Linked DNA regions of Homo sapiens: all the other regions are linked to region 6. The links are contacts of gene promoters, found by promoter capture Hi-C in human tissues and cell types (Jung and others, 2019). All regions are on one chromosome and are shown on one strand. The core of a region is centred on a gene start or on the middle of the fragment in contact, and the rest is flanking DNA. Distances in the headings are between cores, read along the strand shown. Region 1 holds the start of CER1 (cerberus 1, DAN family BMP antagonist). Region 2 has its middle 13 kb from the start of TRH-GTG1-6. Region 3 has its middle 110 kb from the start of TRH-GTG1-6. Region 4 has its middle 46 kb from the start of TRH-GTG1-6. Region 5 has its middle 53 kb from the start of NFIB-AS1. Region 6 holds the start of MPDZ (multiple PDZ domain crumbs cell polarity complex component). Region 7 has its middle 6.3 kb from the start of TRH-GTG1-6.

What was found. Contacts are between HindIII fragments. The study calls those that stand out against the background at their distance.
Region 1: the fragment with the promoter of CER1 here is called in contact with the fragment with the promoter of MPDZ in region 6 in 1 of the 25 tissues and cell types used here (H1 embryonic stem cells).
Region 2: a contact is called between a fragment that was not itself captured here and the fragment with the promoter of MPDZ in region 6, in 2 of the 25 tissues and cell types used here (dorsolateral prefrontal cortex and heart left ventricle).
Region 3: a contact is called between a fragment that was not itself captured here and the fragment with the promoter of MPDZ in region 6, in 1 of the 25 tissues and cell types used here (mesenchymal stem cells).
Region 4: a fragment that was not itself captured here is called in contact with the fragment with the promoter of MPDZ in region 6 in 3 of the 25 tissues and cell types used here (H1 embryonic stem cells, dorsolateral prefrontal cortex and hippocampus).
Region 5: a contact is called between a fragment that was not itself captured here and the fragment with the promoter of MPDZ in region 6, in 1 of the 25 tissues and cell types used here (dorsolateral prefrontal cortex).
Region 7: a contact is called between a fragment that was not itself captured here and the fragment with the promoter of MPDZ in region 6, in 3 of the 25 tissues and cell types used here (H1 embryonic stem cells, adrenal gland and mesenchymal stem cells).

Annotation. Positions count from the first base shown.
Region 1 is chr9:14,720,407-14,724,218 of GRCh38, reverse strand. CER1 (cerberus 1, DAN family BMP antagonist) reads left to right here and starts at 1,486. Exons shown (of 2, transcript NM_005454.3): 1 at 1,486-2,053. The coding sequence starts at 1,547. RefSeq lists enhancers at 461-1,398, 1,399-2,338. The HindIII fragment of the contact is 6,126 bases long and covers 1-2,627 here.
Region 2 is chr9:14,418,762-14,422,828 of GRCh38, reverse strand. It overlaps a transcript of NFIB not described here. Among named protein-coding and RNA genes, the nearest start is that of TRH-GTG1-6, 13 kb to the left of the region's middle. The HindIII fragment of the contact is 4,997 bases long and covers 1-4,067 here.
Region 3 is chr9:14,546,566-14,550,329 of GRCh38, reverse strand. No RefSeq gene overlaps it. Among named protein-coding and RNA genes, the nearest start is that of TRH-GTG1-6, 110 kb to the right of the region's middle. RefSeq lists an enhancer at 2,688-3,290. The HindIII fragment of the contact is 3,154 bases long and covers 1-3,112 here.
Region 4 is chr9:14,385,591-14,389,479 of GRCh38, reverse strand. It overlaps a transcript of NFIB not described here. Among named protein-coding and RNA genes, the nearest start is that of TRH-GTG1-6, 46 kb to the left of the region's middle. The HindIII fragment of the contact is 5,319 bases long and covers 1-3,889 here.
Region 5 is chr9:14,367,951-14,371,740 of GRCh38, reverse strand. It overlaps a transcript of NFIB not described here. Among named protein-coding and RNA genes, the nearest start is that of NFIB-AS1, 53 kb to the right of the region's middle. The HindIII fragment of the contact is 3,365 bases long and covers 410-3,774 here.
Region 6 is chr9:13,277,701-13,281,629 of GRCh38, reverse strand. It overlaps MPDZ (multiple PDZ domain crumbs cell polarity complex component), which reads left to right and starts at 1,938. Exons shown (of 47, transcript NM_001378778.1): 1 at 1,938-2,230. RefSeq lists enhancers at 2,315-3,030, 3,031-3,746, 3,747-3,929. The HindIII fragment of the contact is 5,465 bases long and covers 354-3,929 here.
Region 7 is chr9:14,438,291-14,442,371 of GRCh38, reverse strand. It overlaps a transcript of NFIB not described here. Among named protein-coding and RNA genes, the nearest start is that of TRH-GTG1-6, 6.3 kb to the right of the region's middle. The HindIII fragment of the contact is 4,948 bases long and covers 1-3,902 here.

The DNA.
Region 1 (3,812 bases), core at 237-2,736, 1.4 Mb before region 6:
TCCATAGATATTTGGTACAAGTACAATATATCTCCACTCATGGCATTCTGGTAAAGTGATGGTCCATGTTAAAAATAGCTCATTATCATGGGTAAAGGGACTTACTTAAGGCTTTATTTCATAGAAATCAGGCATGGCTATCAAGAAGAACAGAAATGCCTGGAAAACAGACTCCAGTGGGTCACTTCTTGGAAAGAAAGTTTAATCAGTATTGACAAAAAAGGGGGAACATGTTCCAGGACTATTTGTGTTATTGAAAGCAAGGAATATAGTGATTGAATTAAAAGGGGAGAAATAAAAGCAGATATTGCATTGCTTCCCAGTGGAAATACTGTTTGAATCATGTGGTAGGCTGATCGGACTCTATTCTGGGGTTTCAGTTTTCTGGACGTGTTTCTTTTTCGTATCCTAGGCTGATTCATGATAGTTTTGAATGATAGTTATTTTTCAATTTTTCCTTTGATCCCCGAAGACTCTTATTTGTGTCAATCTTTATTTAGCCTGGCCATCAATTAGTGTAAAACAAGGGGAGATGATGTGGATTCAATAAGGTAAGAAACTGACTAGCCAGCGTCACACACAAAGTTATCAAACCTGGTTCTTAGAATCCACGTTCTCATGTCTGGCTCTTTGTTCAAAGGGAAAAAAAAATCAATAGGATGGCTGGAGGGAGACATTTCCCTATCCTCATTGAAGACTGATGAGCTGTCAGTCTATTACGTGGTATCCTGTTGAGGAACATGTGAACAATTGGAAGAGTTTATCTGATGACTGACCAGTTGTGAAATTTAGCACCCATTAATTGATTCTTAATGTGAGAGGATTAACTTGGGAATTGTGAGTTTCTACGTGTGGAAAGGAAAACATATTCCCTTTACTCAGTTACTGTGCAAAAATCAATAACCCCAATTTGCATGTAAGTAAGAAACAATATGTCCCTTGCTCAAAAAAATTAACATCCTTCTAGCTCTTCCTTTCTTCTCCTTACAACTTTGATATACTTCTTCGTGTGTGTGTGTGTGTGTGTGTGTGTGTGTGTGTGTGTGTGTGTGTGAATAGCCTTCCTAAAGGCCTGGGCTTTTTCTAAATGTATGCCTTTAATTTTTATCCAAAAACTTCTCTTACAGCAACATGTCTTGTCTATTCTATTCCAGCACAAGGCAGATGCACAGCAAATGTGAGCTGACTCTAGTCCTTCTTCTGAAAACAGCCATGGGAAATTTAGGCAAAGAATGTGTTGTCTTTGCTAATACTGCTCTTTAAGCCCCAGACATAGCTAAACTCTTAGCTAATTACCCCCTGGGTCCCAGGCTTTCACTGGGGCCTTTTAAAATACACAAAACCAAAGTGACGGCAGGAGGCCATTAGCACTACATAATTCAAGCAAACAATAAATGTGTTTATTCTGCCTGGCTACTGACCACCTGCCTTCCCATCCCGCCAGGCAGGTATCTATATATACGATTTCCTTTTTCCCAGTCCTGCAGAGAATGAGCCTCTCCTTTGGGCCTCATCATTTACAAAAGAAGCTTGGGCCCCTGACAGCATGCATCTCCTCTTATTTCAGCTGCTGGTACTCCTGCCTCTAGGAAAGACCACACGGCACCAGGATGGCCGCCAGAATCAGAGTTCTCTTTCCCCCGTACTCCTGCCAAGGAATCAAAGAGAGCTTCCCACAGGCAACCATGAGGAAGCTGAGGAGAAGCCAGATCTGTTTGTCGCAGTGCCACACCTTGTAGCCACCAGCCCTGCAGGGGAAGGCCAGAGGCAGAGAGAGAAGATGCTGTCCAGATTTGGCAGGTTCTGGAAGAAGCCTGAGAGAGAAATGCATCCATCCAGGGACTCAGATAGTGAGCCCTTCCCACCTGGGACCCAGTCCCTCATCCAGCCGATAGATGGAATGAAAATGGAGAAATCTCCTCTTCGGGAAGAAGCCAAGAAATTCTGGCACCACTTCATGTTCAGAAAAACTCCGGCTTCTCAGGGGGTCATCTTGCCCATCAAAAGCCATGAAGTACATTGGGAGACCTGCAGGACAGTGCCCTTCAGCCAGGTATGTGTTCTGGGGGGAGAGCAGGTAAGAGTTTGCAGGTGGTAGTGGACAGCTGGGATGGATGGAGAGTAGGGGAAAAGGCTGTCAGGAGCCTGACTCTAGCTTAACTACAGATTTGGTCCTTGGGCATTCATCATAGGATTTGGCAAAGATTAAGTTTCCTTCTGGCCTTTCCATTTTTTCTTGGCATTGTGGAAATGCTGCAAGAATGATATGATGATACTGTCAATATCAGTAATCATTCATTCACACTGAAGACACAGAGCTCTGTTTTATTTATTTATTTTTGCATTGGAGGTGATCTACTCAGAGATATAAGTCAGACTGTACCCTCAGTTAGGAAACTGAGAATTTAGAGTAATCACCAGAACTCCTCTGTAGCTATCTTTCTGCACTCTATTAATATGTGGATGAGCAGGTCAACTCCATTTGTTGATAAAGTGGGGTGCATTGGACTCCTTCCCAAATACTCTCATATCCATTTACGATGGTCTTAATCCCCATAGTCCATACTTAATTACTTTATAGGTTTATGAGGGACTTCTTTAATAGCTTGCTAAAGCTATCCCACAACCTCAAAGTACGTTGAGGTTCTCAGGCAAAAGTTGTCATATCATTTCTAGTATTATGATAGCAAAAAAGTGATTTTCTTTCACTTATTTTCTCATATGAGCTTTTTAAAAAATCAATCTTGATGTGAGATCATATCTCCTCCCCTTAGAAGTACCTTTCTCCTGATTCATGTTGTGTTGGCTGATTTGTAGTTATTATGATCAATTCCATGCTATTAAGACAAAGGGACATCCTACTGTCTACTTCCTCTGGCAATATCTACATTCCAAATGTTAAATTAAAATTGAGAACTTGCATTAGGTCCTTAAACATGAAGATATTGAACCAAAAACATGCAGGGTAGAGTAAAATTTTATAGTCGAGTAATGCTACCCAATTAAGCAAGCAATAGAATAGGGCAATTGACTGTTCAAGGCAGTTAAGTATTCTGCCTGAAAAGGCAAGGATATGTAGCAATGGCAAGTCAATTATCAAATAATAATGACTACTCTGTTGGCCATGTGCAATTAGAAAATTACCCCTAAGAATCAGGCAATCAAATTTCTTTTGAAATTCTTCTTTTGAATTCTATTGCTAATTAAATTAAAACTAAGATGTTTGACTCTTACATATTTTGAAAGGCATATAAAGCTAGGTGCTTGGAGTTATGAGAGGTAAAGGTGATGTAATATACAATGATTTGCAGGCATATGCATTGTAACTCTGCTTGCATACAACTTCATAGACTTGAATGTACTACAGGTCTTGCAGAATAGGATAGAATTAAACCTAGAATGTTCTGATCTATTCTACGATCAATGTAACAAATATGTATTGGGAGCCTACTATGCACAAAGCCCTGTGAGGAATAAAAAAGTAAGGCACATTACTTATGTAAGATAATTACCATTAGAATTTTTCAATCGCTCACATCCAATTAGACAAAATTGCTTAAGGTTTTGCACGAATAATGTAGAGTAAAATATTTTTTATGTTAACTTAGGGATTCCCTAAAGGCTGTTTAATAATTTACTCAATAAAGAAAATTTAATTGAGGTGGTTCTGTGCCCTTATAGATACCATCACTTGCATATTGCAAATTGTATCCAAAATTGGAAAGCTTTGAAATTTTTAAATTATCCTCAGATTTACAGTCCATAGCTTCTGCATTATGTGTGTTAAAGAAATAATTCAAAATAACGTAATG
Region 2 (4,067 bases), core at 802-3,301, 1.1 Mb before region 6:
TCCCACAACACAGGGCTATCTATGGCTGGCAGGGCTGGGAACACAGCACTCTGCACCTTCCTCAGTCGCAGAAGTGGTCACTGGATTCTGGTTGGGTGGATTTTGTACCATATTCTTCTAGCCAAAGAGATTAGTCCAAGATGTGGACCCATGACCTATGCTGAGCCAATCTGAATCCTTCCTTGGAGTGTCTTGAGTGGAAAGTGAAAGGATATTGTCTCAAGACTGGCCTTTTCAAGGTTGGGTTTTATAAGTGTGTTGGCCTTTAAGCCTTATTGCCTTCTTAAAGTAATTTAAGCTAGATGCTTATCACGTGCAATTGAAAGAGTTCCAGCTAATACGGGGGCTTTGGCAGAATGAGAAAGGAGCCTTACTTTCTTTTCCTGACTCCATAAGAATACTTAGAGCAGGCAGAGAAGCACCAGGCCAGAAACATTATGGTGAGCAAACATGGACTCCAGGGACATTCAGGCCTTTTGGAAGAACAAGCATTCATGGACTGCTAATAATTAATGAATTTCAACTGATCAGTGTTCTACAAGTAAAAGTGGCCAATAACCAGAGGCCTAACATCTGGGGAAAAGGCAGGAAAGTTTCCATAAGGATCTGACAGTCTGAGACCTGAAGATGGGGAGTTGTTATTCTCATCTTCCTGGGTCGGAGTCTCCTTTGTCATGTTAACCCTACATAGCATGGTGGCTGCTTCCACTTTAAAATGTCTTTTTCTCACTAACTGAGCTAACACTAGCCTGTTTATATGATTATATTAGTGGGAATATAATTACTTTTTCTGTACTCTTCATACTTCCTGTGGCCTCATCAAAATACATAAGAGAAACTTTTGGTCTGAGTAAAATGAAGTGCTAGGTAGAAAAGTGAAAAAAATAGCCCTCAAGGAAAAAAAAAGTAGCAATTCTAATTCTGCTCTCATGAATTATCTTTGGAGTCCTGAATATCTATTAAAATTTCTGACATACCTGTAGATTTCTGCTCAATCATAAATCATGAAAATATAGAAGAATTGGGTATGCTTTGGTACAAAGAATATGCACTTTCATTGAAAATGAACTCTATAAAGGTGTATCAAAATGAATCTTTGCTGTTATGCAAATTAGCACTGGGCCAATTCTAGTGTGGCATCCTTTGCTTTGTCGAAATGTATCCAACTGTGATGGATCCTCTGTCCATTGGTTTGTAGCAAGTAATTTACATTTGTCAACTTTCATTTGTATGTAGATAAGATAACTGACATTGAAAACCCATCTTCTTATCTTTCTCAATGGAAGAGTTAATCTGATTTACCATTTTCATGATGTATACTCTGCATTCCTCTTCAGTATCTTCAAATTCCAGGTAGTTTTTGACTGATTTGTTGTGTTCCTGCTTTTACATCTTATCTTATGAAAGAACATATACACTCTGTTAAATTAGATCTTAGGGCTTTTAGCCCTCCTCAGACTTTCTCTACCATGCCCCAAAGTATCTCATCCAATAATTAACATTTATAATTATTTAACAAATCTGTATTGAGCCAGACATTGTTCTAGATCTGAGAATTTATAAAATAGATGTTCATTTCAATTAATATGATTGTTATTTATCTCATTTAATATTTCATAAGAATTGGCATCTAGAAAGAAATGAAGGAAGAAAAACAGGAAGGAAGAAAGAAAAGAAGGGGCTTGTCTCTTTATGAATGCTACAGTTTTGCACATGGTATACATGCCTTATTTTTTTTTTTTTTGCCAAAGATCCAGAGCTCTTAAATTATGTGATATTATTTTGTAACAAAATAGTTGAAGGCAGGATGTGAAAAAGAAACCAATGCAATTTACTTATAATTAACTAAGACTAAGTTTAAAAACGAAAAAAAAAATGGCTTACTCTCAGTGGTGCTACTGTTGAACTGTCATCTAAAAGCTTATATAATTAGTGGAAGCATGTTAATTGAATTATGGCAATTAAGTCAGCCTTGAGACAAGAGGTTCCCTCCTGATTGACGAGATAGTAGTAATTCTGCAACCCATTTCCCCTGGTAGGAAGTTTCGGGACTGTGTCTCATCCTGCCCCTTAGTATTTTAGCTATGATGAAGTGGCCAAATCTTGATTTCTCTGGTGTTAATTATCCACTTTGCGGGTTTTCTGGGCCCTTGGATTCTTCTCTTCCTTTCTACAGGGTTACCAGGTTGACAGCATCAGTGGTAGGCTAGAGCCATGAAGAGGTCATGCAATTTACATCTGTTGTTTTTGCTACCAAATATCTTCATCAGTAAAAGATAAGGAGTGGGAGGAATGAAAATATTTGGGGGGTTGGTGTGGAGAAAATGATTATCTTTCCAGCCTTTCTTTGATAGCATCTTTTTTTTTTTTTTTTTTTTTTTTTGAGACGGAGTCTCGCTCTGTTGCCCAGGCTGGAGTACAGTGGTGTGATCTTAGTTCACCGGAACCTCCACCTCCCGGGTTCAAGTGATCCTCCCCTCTCAGCCTCCCAAGAAGCTGGGATTGCAAGCGCACACCACCAAGCCCACTAATTTTTGTATTTTTAGTAGAGATGAGGTTTCGCCATATTGGCCAGGCTGGTCTCAAACTCCTGACCTCAAGTGATCTGCCCTTCTCGGCCTCCCAAAGTGCTGGGATTGCAGGCGTGTGCCAGCACGCCCGGCTCTTTAATAACGTCATTGTTGATTGAAGTGTTGAGAAAAGACTGAAGCCAGAGTTCACATGAGTTTGGGGACAGTTTGGGGACTATACTTGTTCATCTTAACCCTTTTTATAGAGCCTGCAGAGTGAGCTAGCAGCATGTATATCAGGTCCTGTCCCCAACCTGATATTAATAAATGAAGTAGCCTTGGGAAATTTCCTTCCTCTCTCCAGGACTAATTTACTCTACAAAACAAGAATGTTGTAGTTCCTTTAAACTACAAAATTCTATACTTTTTGGTCTATTCACAAGCTCAGGTTCATGTTTTCTAGGGTTTTGAATATGGATTGTTCGCCTCATATGTCCTGGGGTGACAAAGCTGCGTGGGCAGTGTGTATGCCAGCCAGACATACCGATGGGAAGTGGAGCAGATGCCACTGAGGACTGTCAAAGGGTCGGTGTTGTGGATACCTCCAGAAAAAGAAAGCAAAAGAAAAGCCAACAGGGAGGAAGGGGTGGGAGGACCATACTGAAATGTCTGAAGACAGCGGTCCTGGGGAAGTTCTGTGAGCTGGGCCAGCTACGTAACATGCAAGGCTACGTAACGTAACAGGGCTCGTTGCAAAATTAAAACACGGGGTCTCTTGTTCAAAAATCAAAAATTTCAAAATGGCTACAGCAGAGCATTCAACTAGACGCAGGACGCTTCTAAGTGCCAGGTCACATGCCGGTGAAGTGGGCCCTGTCTGTGGGCATGGTTGGTAGGGATTAATCCTGTTTCCAGGGGTTGGAATCACAGCAACCTCCCCTCCCTGGTCCCCTGAATCTGCAAGGCTCACTTCAAGTCTGCTTTTCATTCAGTGCTATGCTTCTTTCTTTCTTGCTTTTTTTTTTTTTTTTAACAGTGCTGCTAGCTGTATAAATATTTTACAGTTCCCCTATGAAAAGTTTCCAAGGGGCCCATGTTGAGGGAAAAAAATCTTTGAAAGGATTTTTTCCATAGCAATTAAAACCTTTCAAAGCACCGAGAGCTCCCCAGTCCCACTTTAGTGCAACAAACCTCTATTTTTTTGCCCAGTTTGGATGGCTCTGGGTCTGAAAGTAAGCCAGCCTCTTTGTTTGGTGACTTTGCAGGTTGCCGATAGACATTTGGAATTTAAATTCATTAGATACATGGCAGAGCCGTGGATGGAACTGGGATGGATTTAGAAATGCTGTGATCAGAAACTCTAACCCCTATTTCCTGTATCTCATTTACTGGGGTAAAATGACTATAAATCAACCTAAAGCTCATTTTAGCTCCCCAGATGAAGTCAAATGTACACTCTGACTTATGCATATACCATTTTTAGTTAACGCACCAATAAAAATAATTGTGCAAGCCTAAATTTGGAAGTGTTCCCAGCGTTTATGACAAAACTTAATA
Region 3 (3,764 bases), core at 286-2,785, 1.3 Mb before region 6:
TTTGCTCCTCATGCCAAAATAAGTTCCTGAGAGCTCAAGAATGTAAACTTAAAGTAAGTTAGTAAGTAACTAAATAAAAGTACCAAATAAAAATATGAGCGATAATTTTTTATGAGAGTGGAGTGGCAAGGCCTTTAGAATAAAGACTCAAGGGCCAGAAACAATAAAGAAATAGTAAATAAATAGGACTGTATCAAAATGAAACACTTCTGCAGAGAAGTACCATGGATAACATAAACAGAAAATGTTAAAACTAATGTCCTTAAGATATAAGGAGCTATTAAAATTAAGGAAAAAAAACAACAACCCAATAAAAAAAAGAACAAAAAATTTGAATCAGTTTGCCAAGAGAAAGAAAGAAATGTAGCTTATAAGCTTAATAAAAAGATGTTTATTATAATTCAAATGGGAATACAAATTTGAAAAAGTGATTTGCCATTTTCCACATCAGATAAGCTTGGATATGTTGCTTTAGTAAGAGTTTAGGGAAGCATGCACGTTTACCCACTGATTAAAAAAAAAAAAGTGAGAATTGCTACAACTTCTTTGGAAGGCATTTATGCAACAAATATCAATATTTTAAATGAACATACTATTTTTCCAGTAATTATCATACCAGGTATATCTTATCCTAAAGATATACCTTCACTTGACAGCAAAGACATCTATGTAAAGGCCATATAAAGGATGATCATTTCAGCTTTCTTTTAATATCAAAGGACTAGGAATATATATCTATCCATAAAAAAGACATCAGTTAAGTAAATTAGGATACTTCCATGCATTGGAGTATTGTAGTCATGAAAAGAATAAGTTAGATATGATAGTTTTAAGGCCCAATAGACAAAATGACTGAAACAAAATACAGAGAACCCAGAAACAGACCAAATGATATTTGCTCAATTCAAATTCAGTAAAGTAGAATACCACATAGCCATTGAACATAACCACTATTAGTAATGCAAAAAGTAGGAATTAAAATAAGGTTCTATTTTTAGCTGTTAATGAGCAAATATTTAAAGCATGGTAATATCAGTATTAGTCAGGCTACCGATTTGTTCTCATTTTTTTGATTTCTGTATGCGGTTTTCATTCATTCATTCATTGATTCATTTAACCAATATTTATAGTGTAATAAACTATACATTATGCCAGGCACTGAGTTCTTATCACTCAAAGACTAGTTGATGAGAGTATAAATTCCAATTGTGGTAGTAGAAATCCATAGCTTAAAATAGTCACACTTTTTACTGAACAATTTATCTTCCAGAAGTTTATCTCATATGAATAATCAGGTAAGTGTGCACAGTAGTAGTTGAAAGGATATTTAGCATAGCATTTGTGGAAGATTGCCAAATGTCAAAAATTCCTTCATGCTTTTATGTTATATTTCTTGTAATGTGACGTTGCAGATTCTCACCAAGCAATGGAGTCTATTCTTCAGCCTTTGACTCTGGGTTGGACAGATGACTTGGGTTGGGCAAAAAGACATTACTAAGTATATTAGAAGCTAAGGCTTAACAAGCACTTGCACATTGGAGCTTGCTGTCCAAGCCTCTGAGACCACTGGTGAAGAAGTCCAGGCTGGACCACTATGGATGAGAAACCACATGGAGAGAGGACCCCTAGTTGCTTCACAGAATAATGAACTAAAAAAAAAAAAAGAAATGTTGTTCTTGTAAGTCGAGAAATTGTGAGGTTGTTTATTACACGGTGAAAGCTAATTGATAAGGCATTATTTGTAATTTCCAATCAACAATCCACCTATATGTTTACCAGAAAGACATATAGGTTGGTTAAATTCATACAACGGTGATAAAGTTTGGATGTGTGTCCCCTCCAAATCTCATGTTGAAATACATCCGCCAGTGTTGAAGGCGGGCCTAGTGGGAGGTGTTTGGGTTATGGGGACAGATCCCTCGTGAATGACTTGGTGTCCTCCCATGGCAATGAGTGAGTTCTTGCTCCGGTAGTTGATGTGAGAGCTGGTTCTCTAAAGGGGCCTGGCACCTCGTCCTCTTGTCTATATTTCTCCCTCTTTCTGTCTTGCTCCATCTCTCTTTCTTGTTCCCTCTCTCGCTGTGTGACATACCTGCACCCTCTTCACTTTCCACCATGAGTAAAAGCTTCCTGAGGGTTCATCAGAAGCTGAGCGGATGCTGGTGCCATACTTATACAGCCTGCAGAATCATGAGCCAAATAAACCACTTTTCTTTATAAATTACCCAGTCTCAGGTATTCCTTTTAGCAACTCAAAACTGACTCAGAAAATTGGTGCCAAGGAGTGGGGCATTGCTACAAAGATACCTGAAAATGTGGAAACAGCTTTGGAGCTGGGTTACAGGCAGAGGTTGGAAGAGTTTGGAGGGCTCAGGAGACAGGAAGACAAGGGAAAGTTTGGAGCCTCTCAGAGCCTGGTTAAGTGGTTGTGAAGCATTCTAAAATGCTTTTAGAAACATGAATGGTGAAGACCAGGCTACCAAGGTCTCAGATGGAAATGAGGAAGTCATTGGGAACTGAAGCAAAGGTCACCCTTGTTATTCCTTAGCAAAGAACCTGGCGCATTGTGTCCATGCCTGAGGGATTTGTGGAAGGTTGAACTTAGGAGTGATGATTTAGAGTGTCTGTTGGAAGAAATTTCCAAGCAGAAATGCATTCAGGAGGTGGGGTGGCTGCTTCTAACGACTTACATTCAGATTTGGGAGCAAAGGACTTAATGTTGGAACTCATAGTTAAAAGGGAAGCAGAGCGTAAACATTTGGAAACTTCACAACCTGGCCATGTGATAGAGAAAGAATCCAAGCAGGCTGTGGAACAACCGCTTGCTGAAGAGATTAGCATGACTAAGAGGAAGCCAGGTGCTAATAACCAAAACAATGGGGAAAAGGCCATGAAGGCATTTCAGAAGTCTCTGAGGCAGCCCCTCAGTTTGGGGAGCCAGGCCCAGAGTGCTACTACTGCTCTCTGCTGCCTCAGGAGGCTACTGCTGCATCCAGTCTGCTGCATTTCCAGCCTCAGCTCAAAGGGCCCAAGGTACAGCTCAGGCTGCCACTTTGAAGAGCGCAAGCCACTATAAGCCTTGGAGGTTTCTACTTGGTATGCAGAATACAAGACTAAGGGAGACTTGGCAGCTTCCGCCTAGATTTCAGAGGAAGTATCAGAAAGCCTGGATGCCCAGACAGAAGCCTGCGGCAGGGGCAGATCCCCTTCAGAGAACTTCTGTTAGGGCATGAGGGGAAATGTGGGGTTGGAGCCCCCACACAGAATCCCCACTGGGACACTGCCTATTCCCCACACAGAGTCCCCATCAGGACACTGCTGTGCCCTTCAGACCCCAGGATGGTAGAGCCACAAGCAGCGTGCACCCTGAGTCTGGAAAACCGGCAGACACTCAACTTCAACCAATGAAAGCAGCCGTGGGGGCTGTACCCTGCAAAGCCACAGAGGCGGAGCTGCCCAAGGCCTTGGGAGCCCACCCTTTGCCCCAGTGTGGCCTGGATGTGGGACATGGAGTCATGGGAGGTTATTTTGGAGCTTTAAGGTTTAATGTCTGCTCTGCTGGGTTTCAGATGTGTGTAGGGTCTATTGCTCCTTTCTTTTGGCTGATTTCTCCCTTTTGGAAAGGGCATGTTTACCCAATGCCTGTACCACCATTGTATCTTGGAAATAGATTACTTGTTTTTTACTTTACAGGCTCAGTCTCAGATGAGACTTTGGACATGGGACTTTGGACTTTTGAGTTGAGGCTAGAATGAGTTAAGACT
Region 4 (3,889 bases), core at 433-2,932, 1.1 Mb before region 6:
TTGTATTCTATTTTCTGAAGGAAAAATCTATATCTTAGTATAGATAAGCATATGGATCTATTTAATATGTTCAAAAGCAATGCATATGAATGACTCAGAGCTTAAATTTGTGGTGCTTGGATGAATTGCTTGTTGGGATGGACTCAGAAAGGTGGGAGGAGAAAGGGGGAGGGATGAACAACAACTTAAATGGGAGAGGAGAAACATGTGATTCTAGAAAACAAAAGAATCATGAGCACCAGGAAAAGATAAGTGGTTGTGACAGAAGGAAAGTTCTCAGTGAATATTAACAGGGCCTAACTTCATGTTACACACAATTGTGTTCACATGAAGCCATATGAGGAAACTGCAATTAAAATGTTTAGAAACAGAAAATGTTGTTTGAAAGAAACCTTTGCGATCATCTAATATTGCAGTTCTTGATCCAAAGCTACACACTATGATCACTGGAGAAGCTTTTAAACAATGCAATGTCCAGGCCCCAACCCTTAAGTTTCTGATTTAATTGGTCTCTGATACAGCCCCAGCATGAAAAATTTTAAAAACTTCCTTGTAATTCTAATATACATCCAGGCTTGAAACCATTGATCTAGTTATTCCTGTTTTTTAATTACAAGACATGTCATATACACAAATAGTGAAAATGTATTTTAAAACTATGTATTTACTACCTAGATTGAACACATAAACTTATTGCCACATTTGTTTTATTTTTATTTTTTAAGAAATACAATGTCACAGATATCCTTAGACTTCCTCATCCACTATCAAATCCCACTGCCTCTCCTCCGTTTCCAGAGGCAATTGCTATCTAGAAGTTGGTCATATCCTCCCCATTCATAATTTTTATATGTTTACTATGTAGGTATATAGACTTTTGATGGTTTTAAGGTTTTGTACACTGAGTATCATAGCACATGTATTCTTTTGCATTTTTCCCTCCTTCCCTTCCCTCTCTCCCTCCCTTCCCTCCTTACTTTCTCTCTCTCTCTCTTTCTCTCTCTCTCTCTCTTTTTCTTTCTCTCTTTTTTCTCCCTCTCTCTTTCTCTCTCCTTCCTTCCTTCCTTCCTTCCTTCCTTCCTTCCTTCCTTCCTTCCTTCCTTCCTTCCTTCTTTCTTTCTCTTTTTGAAAAGGTCTCATTCTGTGGCGTCATCACAGCTGACTGCAGCCTCAACCTCCCAGGCTCAATTAATCCTCCCACCCCAGCCTCCTCCATGTAGCTGGGACTACAGGTGCATACCACCACACCTGGCTGCATTTTTCTTTTCTTACTGAACATTATGCTTTTGCAACTCATCCTTGTAATTCAAGCTATTAATATTAACTGTAGTATCCTATAATACTTTTATGCATTCCCTTACTGATGGGCATCTAAGTTGTTTTTCTCATTTTGTTTTGCTTGGCTTTTGGTATGATAAAAATACTGTGGTACACATTTTTGTACATCTTCTTGAGCACACAGAAATAAGCTTCTCTAGGGCAGAGCTTATATACAATTCTGTATAGCAGTGCCTCACAGTTGGGTAGAAGAAGTGGGACCTGAGGTGACCACAGCCCCCTAAATGGGCACCTCCTGCTATGAGCAGCCTCCTCGGCTTACCCCACTGTGCTCTATGAGTATTATCTTTCTCTATGTGTGTCATAATGGGGAAATTGGAAAATACTGCCCCAAGAAATAACCTAGAAGTGGCCATCCTGTGTCGTAGAGTAAGCACACTTAATTAACTCTGTAAGTATTGCTAAAATATTCTAAGAATTATTGTACCAATCCCCATGCCTACCTTGTCAGACTGGAAAATTTTTTGCTGGTCTGATAGATGTGAAATGATATCTTGTCTTAATTTGCATTTTCCTAATAAGTTAGAAAGTCTTTTCATATGTTTACTGGCATATGTTTATAGCTTATGAATCCTCAATTTCTATCCTTTGCTCATTTTTCCATTGAGTTGTTTGTTTCTTCTTCTCACTGATTTTTAATGACTGTATGTATTCTGGATGCTAATATTGTGTAGGTTATATGCATTGCAAATATTTTACTCCAATACCTGGCTTACATTTAACTTTATTTTAGAATCACTTTTCTCAAAAGCTTTTAATTTTTAGTTATGTTTCAAGTGGAGAAATGTGAGGCTCATGGTTGCATAGTAATAATATTTTAGTACCAAATGATGTCACCGTGCTTGCTACTCTAAAGCAGTACAGCAAGATTGAAAAGAACACTCGTCTGAACCCAAGATTTCACAGGTCTTCTATATCTGCTTCTAATAGTTACTGGCAAAAGCCAGTATAAAAAATAATTTGTTGATGTTGGTTACTTAATTACCTGATTAAACTGACACACAGTGATGAACAGTTAGTCACCTAACCCCAAGTCATACACCTTTTTAGTGCCAAAGCTGTCAGAATCTCACACCATTTCCCAAAGTTTGCTGTGTGGAACCCTAGTCCTTGAAAAGCATTCTGTGGTCAGTTTCATTTTACATTTTTTCTCCTCTTAAAATTTCAGAGTTTACAGTGTGATATTAAAAGTTCTGTTAAGTCTTGCAATTAAAAATGCAACCGACTTTCCTTTAATGAGCATTTTCTAAACATATTTGTCTGTGGAACCCTCCTTTGCTATGGAGCACCTAATAACACACCAAGGAGCTGATATTCTATGGAATGGACTTTGAGAATTTCTACATTTAAAAATATTCCCCTCCAGTCTCCAAGGCTGTCTTCCCCTGGGCTGGTACTTTGTCTATACAATCTAATAAATATATAAAAATAGAAGCACTAACATTCATCATACTGAACTTTAAACACTGGCATATAGTAAAGAGATTCCACTGGCTTAAAGCAGAAATAATAACACTGATTGATTTTGTCCCCTAAGAGGCTCTCATGAGTTCCTCTGTGAGAATGCATGATAAAAATATTTCTCCCCCCTTTATGAGCATCTCTTAAATAATGTGGGAATTATTGTGGTGCTTGGTATTATGATCAATTCTTGGGTCCTGTAGCGTAAGATAGTGCTCTTCAGAAGGGTGTGTCACTCACCTGAGGACCTGGAGTCCTAAGGCAGGAGACAGGACCTTCGAAGTTGGACTTTTGCTAGGGGCAGAGTTTCTTGATGGACTCTGTTCTTTTGGGTTCAGAATTTAAGAAACTAACTCATCCAAGCATATGCTCCTAAGTTGTGGGTACTAAGATATTTGGGAACTTAGGCTTTCAAGCTCTGGAGAGCAAGGTATCCTTATGAGTCAGGAGTAGGAGGGAGATGTTTGCTACATATATTATGCTACATTTAAATTTTGGACAAGTGTATGTAATATATACTCAAAAACCTAATGAAATTATTAATGAATGACTAGATTTCATCTAATGATTCAGCACATTTATCAAAATTCCACCGTGTCACCGAGTGTGGTGGCTCATGTCTGTAATTCCAGCACTTTGGGAGGCCAAGGTGGGTAGATCACCTGAGGTCAGGAGTTTGAGACCAGCCTGGAAAACATGGCGAAACCCTGTCTCTACTGAACATACAAAAATTAGCTGGGTGCCGTGGAACATGCCTGTAATCCTAACTACTCAAAAGGCTGAGACAGGAGAATCACTTGAACCCGGGAAATGGAGGTTTCAGTGAGCTGAGATTGCACCACTGCACTCCAGCCTGGGAAACAGAGAAACACTCTGTTTCAAAAAAAAAAAAAAAAGATTCCACTGTGTCTCTGATCCCATATTAGAAATGATGACAACCATAAAAGTAGAAAATACCTGTGAAGAAGTGATTTATAAAAGATTACAAATATATAAATTGTGCTCATGCTCAGAAAAATGGCAAGAAGGCTGTATACCTAAATGTTAACTGTGGTGGTCTCTGAGTTGCTAGGAATATTGGTGGGTTTTT
Region 5 (3,790 bases), core at 843-3,342, 1.1 Mb before region 6:
AGGGGGTAGCTACTACCAAATGAATAGGAATGGCCACTCCTGTGGCCAGATCTTCTGATTTCTCAAGGGAAAGTAAAAACCTATGTTCTTATGTAAAGTTTCCCAACTAAATTATCAACTCATTTAAATACTGTTACAGGCAAACTAAGTGTTTCTGTGGGCCAAATGTAGCCTAGGTGTTCCCAATTTGCAACCTTTTTTATTTCTGAGACATAGGAGAGGACTAAAGTCTAAGTGACTTGCCCAGAGATCACCCAAGTAACTAGTGGCAGAACCAGAATGAGATCCTATAGCCCCTGACTCCCCAGCCAGTGAGATCTGACCTTCTTCAAAACAAATCCTATAATACCACTGAAAACGCTTCAACAAGGATTTCTAGACTGCCTACCCTAAGAAGAAGGAACTTAGATTATTTTTAGTATTACAGTTCTTTATACTAGTGTTTTCTCCTACAACATAAAAGTAAAACCTCATGTCCAAAGCTAACATATAATGATGGAAAAGATATGAAAAGTTCCAGAGATGACTGAGGCCTTGCATAGCTATAAGAAAAGGTTGGTCCTCTGGCAGGTTGGACATATAGTTGGTGTGTGTGTGTTTTTGTTTGTTTGTTTGTTTGTTTGTTTTGTTTTGGTTTGGTTTTTTTGAGACAGGGTCTCGCTCTATCACCCAGGCTGGAGTGCAGTGGCACAATCTCAGCTCACTGCAACCTCTGCTTCCTGGGTTCAAGTGATTCTCCTGCCTCAGCCTCCTGAATAGCTGGGATTACAGGTGCCCACCATCATGCCCGGCTAATTTTTGTATTTTTTGTAGAGATGGGGTTTCGCCACGTTGGCCAGGCTGGTCTTGAACTCCCGACCTCAAGTGATCCACCCGCCTCGGCCTCCCAAACTGCTGGAATTACAGGCATGAGCCACTGTGCCCAGCCTGGACATTAGCATTTAAACAAAGAAATTGATAGCATTTCCAGAAGAGCAGGGGTCAAAAAAGCCCTATGGCAAAGGTGACCCATAACAGGGTAAGAAAGTCTCCAAGTCTGAAGGAACCTCACTATTAGGAGGGATCTGATTTTTATGGAGTTCCAGTGTCGTGTGATCCTGAGATGAATCTGTTCTTTACATGGTTATTTCTTACCTTTGTTATGGAACCAGGTTGTGCCTACAGTGAAGTCAAGTGTTTATAAAGTAGATATGTTCACAAATTTAACACATATTTACACTGTGGGCTAGACCAGCATTCTCAAACATCTGTTATTATCCCACCTTCTACGTGATTTGGCTTCCTCTTATCATTTACACTCTTATTCCTTTAATTTTTAAAAAGCCAATGTACAATTTTTTCTTGACTAAAAAAAACAGTTAACTACCCTTGTGTTGGGGTTGGGGTTACATCAATGAATTAAGTAGTCCTTGACCTTATGGCTCCATAGACCATTAATATACAAATAACTAACTTTGATAAAAATATTGGAAGTGCTATGATAAATGCGAAGAGGGAGCCATTAATTGTCCTTGAGTCCGATGGGGGTAAGAGTGGAAAAGCTTCACCCAGGATGTGATATTGAGCTAGGCTTTCAGGAATGAGCCAGTAAGGAGGTGAAGGTTATTCTAGGCAGAGAAAGCTGCTTGAAGGGAGGCACAAAGTCGTAAAATGTACTGGGTGTTTGGAGATGGCGAATGGTTCAAAATAGCTAAAGCCAAGAACATACAAGGTGAGTGACAGGAAAAGCTGCCTGGGATTGGTTTTAAGTATAGTCATACACAGTAGGACATAACCTTGTCTTACCCTGGGGGTAAAGAGATAGCCCCCAAAGTTTTCAGAGATGGAGAATGTCTGATCTGCTCTAGGTTATGAGAGTCTAATTTTACCTACAGTGGGCTGGTGATGGAAGGGACTGAAAGTAAGAAGGTCAATTAGGAAGCTGTCCAAATATATCAGGCCAAAGATGGTGAAGTACTGAATTAAGGAGTAGAAGCTGTGATGAAAAGGAAAAGCTAGATTTGAAAACCTTTTTTGAGGTAGAAACAATAAAACGTGGTGACTAATTAGGAGAAAAGAAGGAGTAGAAGTTGGGTCCAAAATCTCTAACTTGAGTGCCAGATATATGGAAATGCCATCTATCAAGACATGAGGGAAAGCAGAGCTTTGGGAGGGTGTGTGTGGGGAAGGGAGAGGTGGGGCTGATTGAGGAGTTCTGGCTTGGAGATGTTAAAGCTGAAGCACCTTCTGAAGACTCTGGTAGGTAGATCTACCCAGAAGGCATCAACAACATGGAACCATGGCTCCAGAAGGAAGAACTGTTGGCTATGAGATGGACCCCTGTGGAAATACTCTGCAAATGACTTTTAATGATACAGATGGAAACTAATTATCCTGAGAAGCCTAACCCGATGATAATTAGATAATTTGAAAACTGGTAGTAAAAGAAGGCACAGAACAGCCCTTCGACCAGCTTCCACATCATCTTCTTTAATACAATAAGATTGGGAAATCACTGTGCTTGAAATGATGCAGACACAAGTCTGAACGCTGATCGTCATACTACTAGCTAGCTGTTTGACCTTGGACGAGTTACTGTTTAACCTCGCTTAGCTGCTTTGAGGCAGACATTATTCTGGGGTCTGGGAATATAATGATAAATAAACCCTACCCTCAAAGAGCTTAAATTTCCTTTTCTGTAAAACTACTAGATTGCAATGAGATATTATGTATCAGGCACAGTGCATGATACACAGTACCAAAAACCTGTCACTTACTATATGTGCCAATCACTTTCTATTCTTGGTTCATTTAATTTTTACACCAAACCTGTGAGGTAGGCATTGATATTGTCCCTATATAGTTGGGAAAACTGAGCTCAGGTACCTTGCACAAGTTCACGGGAACAATAAGGGTCATCTGACTCCCAAAATGCTATACTACATCTCCTTTCCTTTGTCAAACTAAATGAGCTATGCAGACATAAGCACCTTCTCTCTCTGAAAGCACCAAAATATGAGGGAATGGAGTAGAAGACATCATCCAAAGAAGATGCCAGTTAAATTGAGATAATATGGCATATTAACATGAAGATAATCAAAACTGAAGTTAGTCAAGATAGCACTGGTATAAATCTCTTTAAATGTTATTCAGATGACTGAACCAAAGATAATGGTCGAGAAATGCTTATCAGTTCAAGATGGCCAAGGCTGCCACTCTGTACCACTCCAAGGAGTTGTGTGTGCAGTTGCACCGTAACCAGTCTGCCTGGTGAAACACGGTGGCCCTGTCCGTAGCTACAGAGTTCTTTTCCTACCTCACATCATTTTTGGAAGTAAGTGCAGAAAAATATTTATTAGTAAGTAAACAACTTTTAAAAGCATTTCAGGAGTAATTTTTACTCATAAATAATGAAATACAAACTACTTAAAGTCATTCTGGGGTGGAAATCTTTACCATATTACTACCTCTTTATGTCTGCTTCTTGGCTGTCATCTTAAATCTTCCTCTTCATTCCCTCAACATTGGCCTAGTTCAAGCTCTCTTCATTTCTCTCAGGACAGCATCCAGCCACTTGTTTCCCTCTGTCTCTCTTTTTTTTTTTTTTAATCTTACTTTACTTACTTTACACGTAAGATACATGTGCAGAACGTGCAGGTTTTGTACATAGGTATACATGTCCCAAGTTTGGTACATGTGCCATGGTGTACATAGGTGTACATAAGTGTACATGTGCCATGTTTGGTACCTGGGATACATGTGCAGAACGTGCAGGTTTGTTACATAGGTATACACGTGCCATGGAGGTTTG
Region 6 (3,929 bases), core at 689-3,188:
TTAGGACTCAAAGAATTCCTTCAGTAGCTAGTTATGAAATTCTTTTCCTCCTACACTACCCCAGCAGCTAACATTTCATGCACGTACTTCCTTTGTATTTGAGAATGACCAGATTTGAAAACTGACAAGTAGAAGTGCTATTCAAACAGGAGGATCCCTTTGGAATTTCTAAGCAATAAGAAAATCCTTTCCAAATGGGATGCCTTGAGGTGACTCTATGACAAGAACACAAAAGTTATATGGAGAAATTATTCATTCTTGCAGTCGTATATTCATCCTATTTCATATGAGTGCCAACCAAGTGTGAAGTTTTTACTAGGCTCTGAGGATAAAATGGTGACTTAGCCCCTGTTCTCATGGAGTTTATGGTTGAAGAGGGAAGAGACATTGCATAATTACAAAATCAAATGCATATTTACAAAGTAGGAAAAATATTATGAAGCAAAAGCATAGGGTACCATAAGAATGCATCACAATGGGTTTATCGTAGTTTGTGGGAATCATGTAGCATCTATGGCAGTTCCATTCACTGGGACACTGAACAAGATGACCAGGCTTGAGCAGAAGTATCACGGCTGCATTTTTTTTTGCAATCTAGGTTTGAGACAAGCAAACAGGGAAGCCAAATAAACACTTGAATATATGGATAAATCTGAAGGTATAAATGTAAGATTCTGTAGGTACGAGATCATAAGCTAGAAGTGAAAATGTATTTAGAGGTAAGAGTTAAAAGGAAAAGAGGGCCCGTAACTGATTTTTAAGGAATTCCAGCATCTAAAGATTGGGGGAGAGGAGGCAAAGAAGACTGAAGAGTGGCCTGGGGACAGGGGCAGATCTACCTGGAAATTGATGTAGCTTAACGTTCCGGGTCCTTCTCTTGCCTGGGAGCAACCCTAGCAATGTGTTTACATGGGCATTTATTTTTTGAATTTTTCTAAAGAAAGATTTTTTTTTTTTTTTTGGTTAAAGCAGAGCTCCCAATTGTACAAGCTTCAGAGCCCATACATCCGCCCTTGACTAAGCGGAAGAAGCAAAACCAAGAGTGTGATTGCATGGAATTACAAGAGGGGTGGGGTGGGGAGGACTCTAGGAAGAGAGAGGTCAACAGCTGTGAATGTGTTTGAAAGTCCAAGGAATATGAGAAAAAAGTATTTTTATTCAGAATATTAAAAGAAATTCTTTTAAATGTTCTAAATTGGACTTCTGAGTATCCTTTGGTCCTATAATCTAATATCAGAGGGATATTTTGAAAAAGAGTTTCTTATGCAGAAAAAAATTCGTGGGACTTCCAAATTGAGGATAACAGAAAGAAAATCTTAAGTGGCACAAAATAGAAATGAATATCTGTTCTTCCTGGGGCCATGCAACTCTAATAACTTTTCCATGTTTACTGTTTTTGCTTTTTAATTGGATCATCAGACTAAGAATGCACCCTGATGTGCGAAAAGTTACTTAGAAAGTGAGAGGACTGCCCCCACCCTTCTGATTAAAGCGCTTCTCATAAGCATCCTATGCCATTCAGTAAGCTACCCATGCAGAAAGCATCCACAGGGCAGTGCACATAAGGAAAATCTGAGGAGCTAGAAACAGGCTATCAGTTTCCGCAGGTTGACAAAATCGGCAGATAAAAATACAAGACTGCCATTAAATTTGAATTTCCGATAAACAACGAAGAACTTTTTAGCATAAGTACGTCCCAAATATTGCATGGGATATACTTGTACTAAAATTATTCCTTTTTTTTTTTATTTGAAATTCCCATTTAACAGAGCAGCCTATATTTTATCTGACCACCTCACAAGTCCACTACCCACACCCCAGGTCGAGCGGCCCAGGAGCGAGTTTAAAACCCCGCACAGGCCTGCTCGGCCGCGTCCCCTGATTGGCCAAGGCGCGCCCGCCGCCCCGCCGGTCGCAGGCGTCACGGCAGCCCCAGCAGCCTGGGCCCCGCCACCGCCTCCGCGGCAGCCCCGGTCGGCGCAAGTGCGGCGCGCGCTGGGGGAGGGGGCGCGGCGGAGCGCTAGGCTGGCGTCGGGCCACCGCGGGATTAAGTTTCTCAGTCACGCGTGAGTGTCTGTGCGTTTTGATCCGAAGCTCCTCGCCGGGTCGTTACTTCAGAAGAGAAGACAGTGAGCGTGGGCGAGGCGAGGCATCCAGAGGCCCCGGCGACCCCTGCTCCCCAGTCCTCCGCCCCCTCGCGTCGCGGCCCTGGGCGGGCGCCGCGAGCCGGGTAAGCGGCGCTTGAGCCCCGGCCCAGAGGCCGAGGCGCGCCCCCGCGCCCTGCGCGCGCGCCGGCGGGGAAGGTGCGCGGGCGCCCTGGGCTCGGCGCTTGGGGGTGGGGGTGGGGGCGGGGATGGGGGTGGGGGTGGGGGTGGGGGTAGGGGTGGCGGCGGGCCGTGGGGCGGTGGGGCGGTGCGCTTGCCCCACCCCGCGCGGCCCGGCGCTTCGCGGAAGCCGCTGCTGTGGCTTTTTTAAAAGGATGGGGTCTAGAAGTTTCCTTTGCTACTCGCAAGTCTCCACTCCCCCCAGCCCCGCGGTGGATAATCCTAGACCTTTCAGCACCCCCGCCACCCCTTTCTTTTGCTCTCGCTGACTAAGAGGTTTAAAAGTTTTTCCTTTTCCTTGACCCAGAGGGGCACAGTCTTGGTGTCGGGGGGCTGGGGGTGGGGTGTTAGCCTGGGGGCCCGGAGCGCAGACCAGGCCTCCAGGGCGCGGGAGCCTGTTGCTCTCCCCTGCAGGGGCCGCTCCCGGACGCCCCATCCGCCGTTACGTGGTCCCGGGATGTGCGGGTTGCGGTAGAGAGTGGGCAGCAATGCTCCTGGTCCTGCGTTCTCGCCTTAGCCGCGGGGACCCCGAGGCGAGCCGCTAATTGGTACCGGTGCCCCGTCCCTCACCCCTGGCACCGGCGCCCTTTTAACCGCCGCTCCCGTTGGTGGGAGCACGTTGGTCTTGTCTCTCCCTTAGTCTCCTCACCCCCCGCGCTGATGGGCGTCTTTGTCTGCGATTTGGCAGCCCCAGGATGCCGGATGTTACCAGGGAAGCGATGTTTGGGAGACGCTTTGTGTCTTGCGGAGTTGCGCGTTTGTTGGGTGGTGATGGTGTACATTTTTGTTTGCGTTCTTTGCAGAGGCACAAAGGCTGGGCTATTCTTGCCTGCAGTCACATGGAAATCAAGCGGAGACTGCGGGGGAGGAGAAGTGGCCAGGCGCCGGCGGGAGGTAGAGGCCGCTCCGTAGTCACTGGGGGCGAGTGGGGGCCCCTGGAGACCTCTACTGCGCGGTGCGGCTTTTGAGGTGCTCCGCTTGGGAAGACCCCGGCAATGGGCACTGACTGCCTTTTTGCAGTAGGGGCTGCGGTTGGAGGCTAGTGTTTCCTAGGTATCATCAGATAGATAAGAGGACCATGACTTCACCAGCGTAGAAGGAAAACTTCTCCATGTTCCTTGATGTCATAGAGAAGGAATCTGATAAGTGATCAGACTGCCTCGTCCTGCCTTGTAGACAGTTTGATGTAAACATCCCCTTCGTGTTTCCCTAGAAATTCCTGGTTTAGGTTACCCTTTATAGAATAAATAACACCTTATCTGAAAACTAACGAGGAGGAGGTGATGGTTTCGGGCTTGGGAGTTTTACATGTTGAATTTGGGTATGAGTGATTACAATGAACATCTTGTAATGTTGGAACTATCTAAATTTGTATAATGTATGCCTTAGCACCTGATGGAATTTTGGCAAACAATAGTGTTTTAAAAACCTAGCAAAACTTGGCCAGGCGCAATGGCTCACGCTTGTAATCCCAGCACTTTGGGAGACCGAGGTGGGTGGATCACTTAAGGTCAGGAGTTCAAGACCAGGCTGGCCAACATGGTGAAACCCTGTCTCTACTAAAAATACAAACATTAGCGGAGCGTGATGGCTCGCACCTGTAGT
Region 7 (4,081 bases), core at 179-2,678, 1.2 Mb before region 6:
AACGACCCCTTGTGGAAGATATTATTAGGTAACCTCTTTTACAAGGTGGGAAACTAAAGCAATCAGAGATGCATGTTCCTGTGTGATAAGACACAGGAGACAGAAATTTTAGTGGGGAGAATATCAGAAAATTTCACACATGGGGCCCAGCACACTAACCAGCATTGTAGGAGAGGGTGGTGATTAGGAGAGGGTGGTGATTAAGCGAGGTGGACCCAGAGTTAGCCTCCTAGGCTCCAGTCCCAGCCCTGGCAGCTCTGCCTGTGTGATCCTGAGCAAGCTCCTTCACCAACTCTGCACCTTGGTATGATGAAGAAAATCATACCGAAGGTTCTCCTGAGGATGAAATGACCTAATTCCTGTGAAGTGTTTAGCACAGTGCCTGCCGTATTACTATGTGCTCAACAAATGGTAGCTATTTTAAAACAATCATTCATGGGAAATTACAAGGGAGCAGAGAAGCCCTTGTAATAAGCCCTTGAGGGTAATACAATCATAGTTGCCTCTCGTAAGTGTACTGTACAAAGGGTCTGTAATAAATGCATTGTATATATTTAATGGTCTCTGGGTGTCTATGGCTAGGGATGGATAGCAACTACTGCTTATTCCATAGGCAGACATGGCCACTTGGTGATTCTCTTCCACGGCCCATTCACTCACCACTGGAGGAGGCCCTCTCCTGAGGTCAAGCCCATCTTGACCCCCCAGGAAGCTGCTTGTCATAGTAATAAGGGTTGAGACTGCCTTGTTAGATGACAGGCAGGAAAAAAAAAAAGAGGAAGAAGAAAAAGAAAGAATTCTGGGCTATATGCAACTGGGAATTAATCAGTTAAAAGGTCAGAACATAAAGTATGGGTTTTGATATAGATGGATCCCACATGCTTTGAACTTTAAAAATCACCGCATAAGGTTTCACTATAAGCACGTTCACCATAAAGGGACTTCACTACACAAATAATGAGAAAAGAAACGAAATCTCCATCCTGAATTTTAAAAATGCAATTAAAATCGGCGCAGACCCACTGAGCCTTGCCAAATCCTGCTTTAAATAACAGTTTGGAGAATCACAAACTTCAATTACTTTTGGCAATGTCTTGGTTTTCCATGAGGCACTACAGGTTATTAAATGTCGTAGCTATTTAGCTTGCTAATGAATAGTTTATCCTACATTCAATTAGGCTGGTTTTCCGTCCGATTTTTTTTTTTGTTTTCTCTCTCCTTTTTTTTTTTTTTTTTTGAACCCACTCAAAGAATTGATGATAATTAAGGGAAAGCTGTCAAGGGTCCAGGTTTTTTTATCCAAGATATCTTTATAGTTCTAGGGCTACCTAGGGTAAAAATCTGGCTTCATCTTATAAACCTAATATCTATCTTCCATATCAGGAATGGCTGTCATAATGATGATAATAGTAAGAAAAATTGCAGTTGTATGTTCTACACAACACCTTTCAAACTGTTCTGCATATTTCACATTTTTCTCTTAATACCTTTGTGTAGTAGAAAAAGAGCAGGTTTATTATTCTTTTTAAAGTCAATGAGGCAAAGGGGGATAAATGAATGTTCCCAGATTATAAACTTCATCATGAACAAAGCAGAATGAAACATGAACACGTAATGTAGTGTTAATTCTCTATTCATTTCATTGCATTATCCAGTTCCCTGGTTTCTCTCTCACTCTCAAGTGACTGAGGCATTGTTATCAGGGGATGCAAATAGTATTTTCATGTATTTTTGAATCACAAGATTATCAAGGTCTGATCAGTTGGACAGCAGTCTCTTTCTGATCAGTGATGTGCTTGTTTATTTCATAGCCCCGCTTTAATCAGGAGAGATTGTGGCTCTAGTGATTTTTGACATTCATTGAGAAGGTTGAAATTGGACATAGACCCTGTGTAATTCAACAAGTATATTTGTGAAATGTACTTCAGAAGAGGCAAAATTAAAATCACCAATAACAAAACACCTAACCATAAAAAAAATAGGCCAATTAAAGAGCCCTTCGATTGGTATCAGCTCCTTCTGCAGCTCTAAAATTAGACCGCACTTCAGGGATTCTGGATCACACCCAGGCCAATTCAATATTTCAATCTAGTCAGCGTGTGCTCTGTCCTAGGTGCTAAGGTGAAGCATGTGGGAGACAAGATGAGGAAGACACAGCTGGCCCCTTGCAGAGCTCTGTGGCGGTAGACTGCCCCAGCCCCACCCCAGCTCACACCAGGTGCCTCATGCATGTGAGGGCTCAGCCATTTTCAGAGCAAGCTCATTGTCACCACTATAAGAACAAATCTAGACAAAAAGTAGGTCCACCTGGTGAGCCAAATGCCTGGATCGTTCTACAGAGGAGGGCTTTGAGGAAGGACTTCCAGCTCCCATGTGGCTCAGCCACCCCCTCTCCTTCCAATTCCCACCCCAAAGTTCTTCTCCTGCCCTGCCTACTTAGCTCCTGACGAAATTGACTGAGATATTGGTTCATATAGGGCAGAAAAGGCAATGTGCCAACCCAAAACTGGGGCAAACGGCTTCCGCCTCGGGGGTGTTTTCAACCCTTACACCGTGTTTTTGCCTCTCTACTTGTTTTCCTCACATGCCCCTATCATGTCCCTATCTCTGGAATTGGAACCACCTGTCCGGACCCTGAGGCACTCTGGCCCATCTGGTGTCCAACTCACCCCTTGGCCCTGACCACTTCTCATAAACAGAGCCCAGTCCCTCAACCTCAGGCCACTTCTGGGGCTCAGCATGTGCCAGCTCTCCTGGCACCCCCTCTTTCTGGCCTGAGGCTCAGGGAAGCTCACTCCCACATCTGGGGTGGCCAAAGTATAGCTAATATTTATTAAGCACTTACTAAGTACCAGACACTCTTCTAAGCACATTGTATGTTTATTCAATCCTCACAATAGCCCTATAACGCAGGTATTATTATTATCCCCTTTTTAGGAAGGAAATTTAAACACAGAAAGATTAAATCATTTGTCCAAGGCTATCAGCCCCAGACCTTCAAGTAGCCTGTGCCTCGTTCTGTCACCCAGGCTGGAGTGCAGTGGTGTGAGCTCTGCTCACTATAGCCTTGACCTCCTGGGCTCAAGGGATCCTCCCACCTCAGCCTCCCAAGTATCTGGGACTACAGGCCTGTGCTACCATGCCTGGCTATCTTTTTATTTTTTGTAGAGAGGGGATTTCACTTTGTTGCCCAAGCTGTTCTCAAACTCCTGGCCTCAAATGATCCTCTTGTCTCGGCCTCCCAAAGTGCTGGGATTTTAGGCACGAGCCACAACGCCGAGCCTGAAACTTCTTAACAAAAAGTAGCTCCACAGGGATTGGTTAGAACCCTGTTGGCCATAAATCCAGAATGCTAACTGGGCTCCTTCCGGCCGACACTTTTCTTTCTTAAAACCTCAGAATCTTAATGTGATGGTAAGAGAAAATGTGGTCATTGGGGGCGTTCCCAGGCTCTCCAGTACTCAGCAATCCCTCTCTCCACCCCATGTCCCTCTTCCTCGGGCGTCCTGTTGCCACCCCTCTTTCTACATGCAGAGCCCTCATTCTCTGCCGCCCCAGGCCTTCAGCTGTTCTCCCGGCTCTTTGTTATTACACATTATCATTAATGGATCAGCCCCCGCTCACGAGGTTTCCAAATAGAGGCCTGGCCCACCAGATCGTAAAGGTTAAGCCCGTGTATTCCAGGGGGCTGTGTCAGATGAGGAATTCTATTAGAAAGCTTTGCATCTGGAGTTTTCTAATGGTGCCTTCAGGCAAAAAAAATTAAAATTAAACCACCAACCAACAACCCCTCTCCACCTCCACCACCCCCTTTCCAGCTTTCCCCACAGCAAGATTTCTGACTTGGTTAAATAGAATTCATTAATAAGCAAGGGGGAAAATCACTCCAGGCAGTTTACTCTCGAAAATGTAAACTGTTAAAACATTTTGTGGTTACAAGAATTCTGAAAATAATGCGTTGTTCTCTGGTGTTTCATGCTCTCTCAGGATCAACGATTTTCTGATACACACAGGAAGCGTTGAGATGGTCACACGTAAGACTATTTAGCACCCAGCGTTTCTTTCTGATGGTGATGTATTT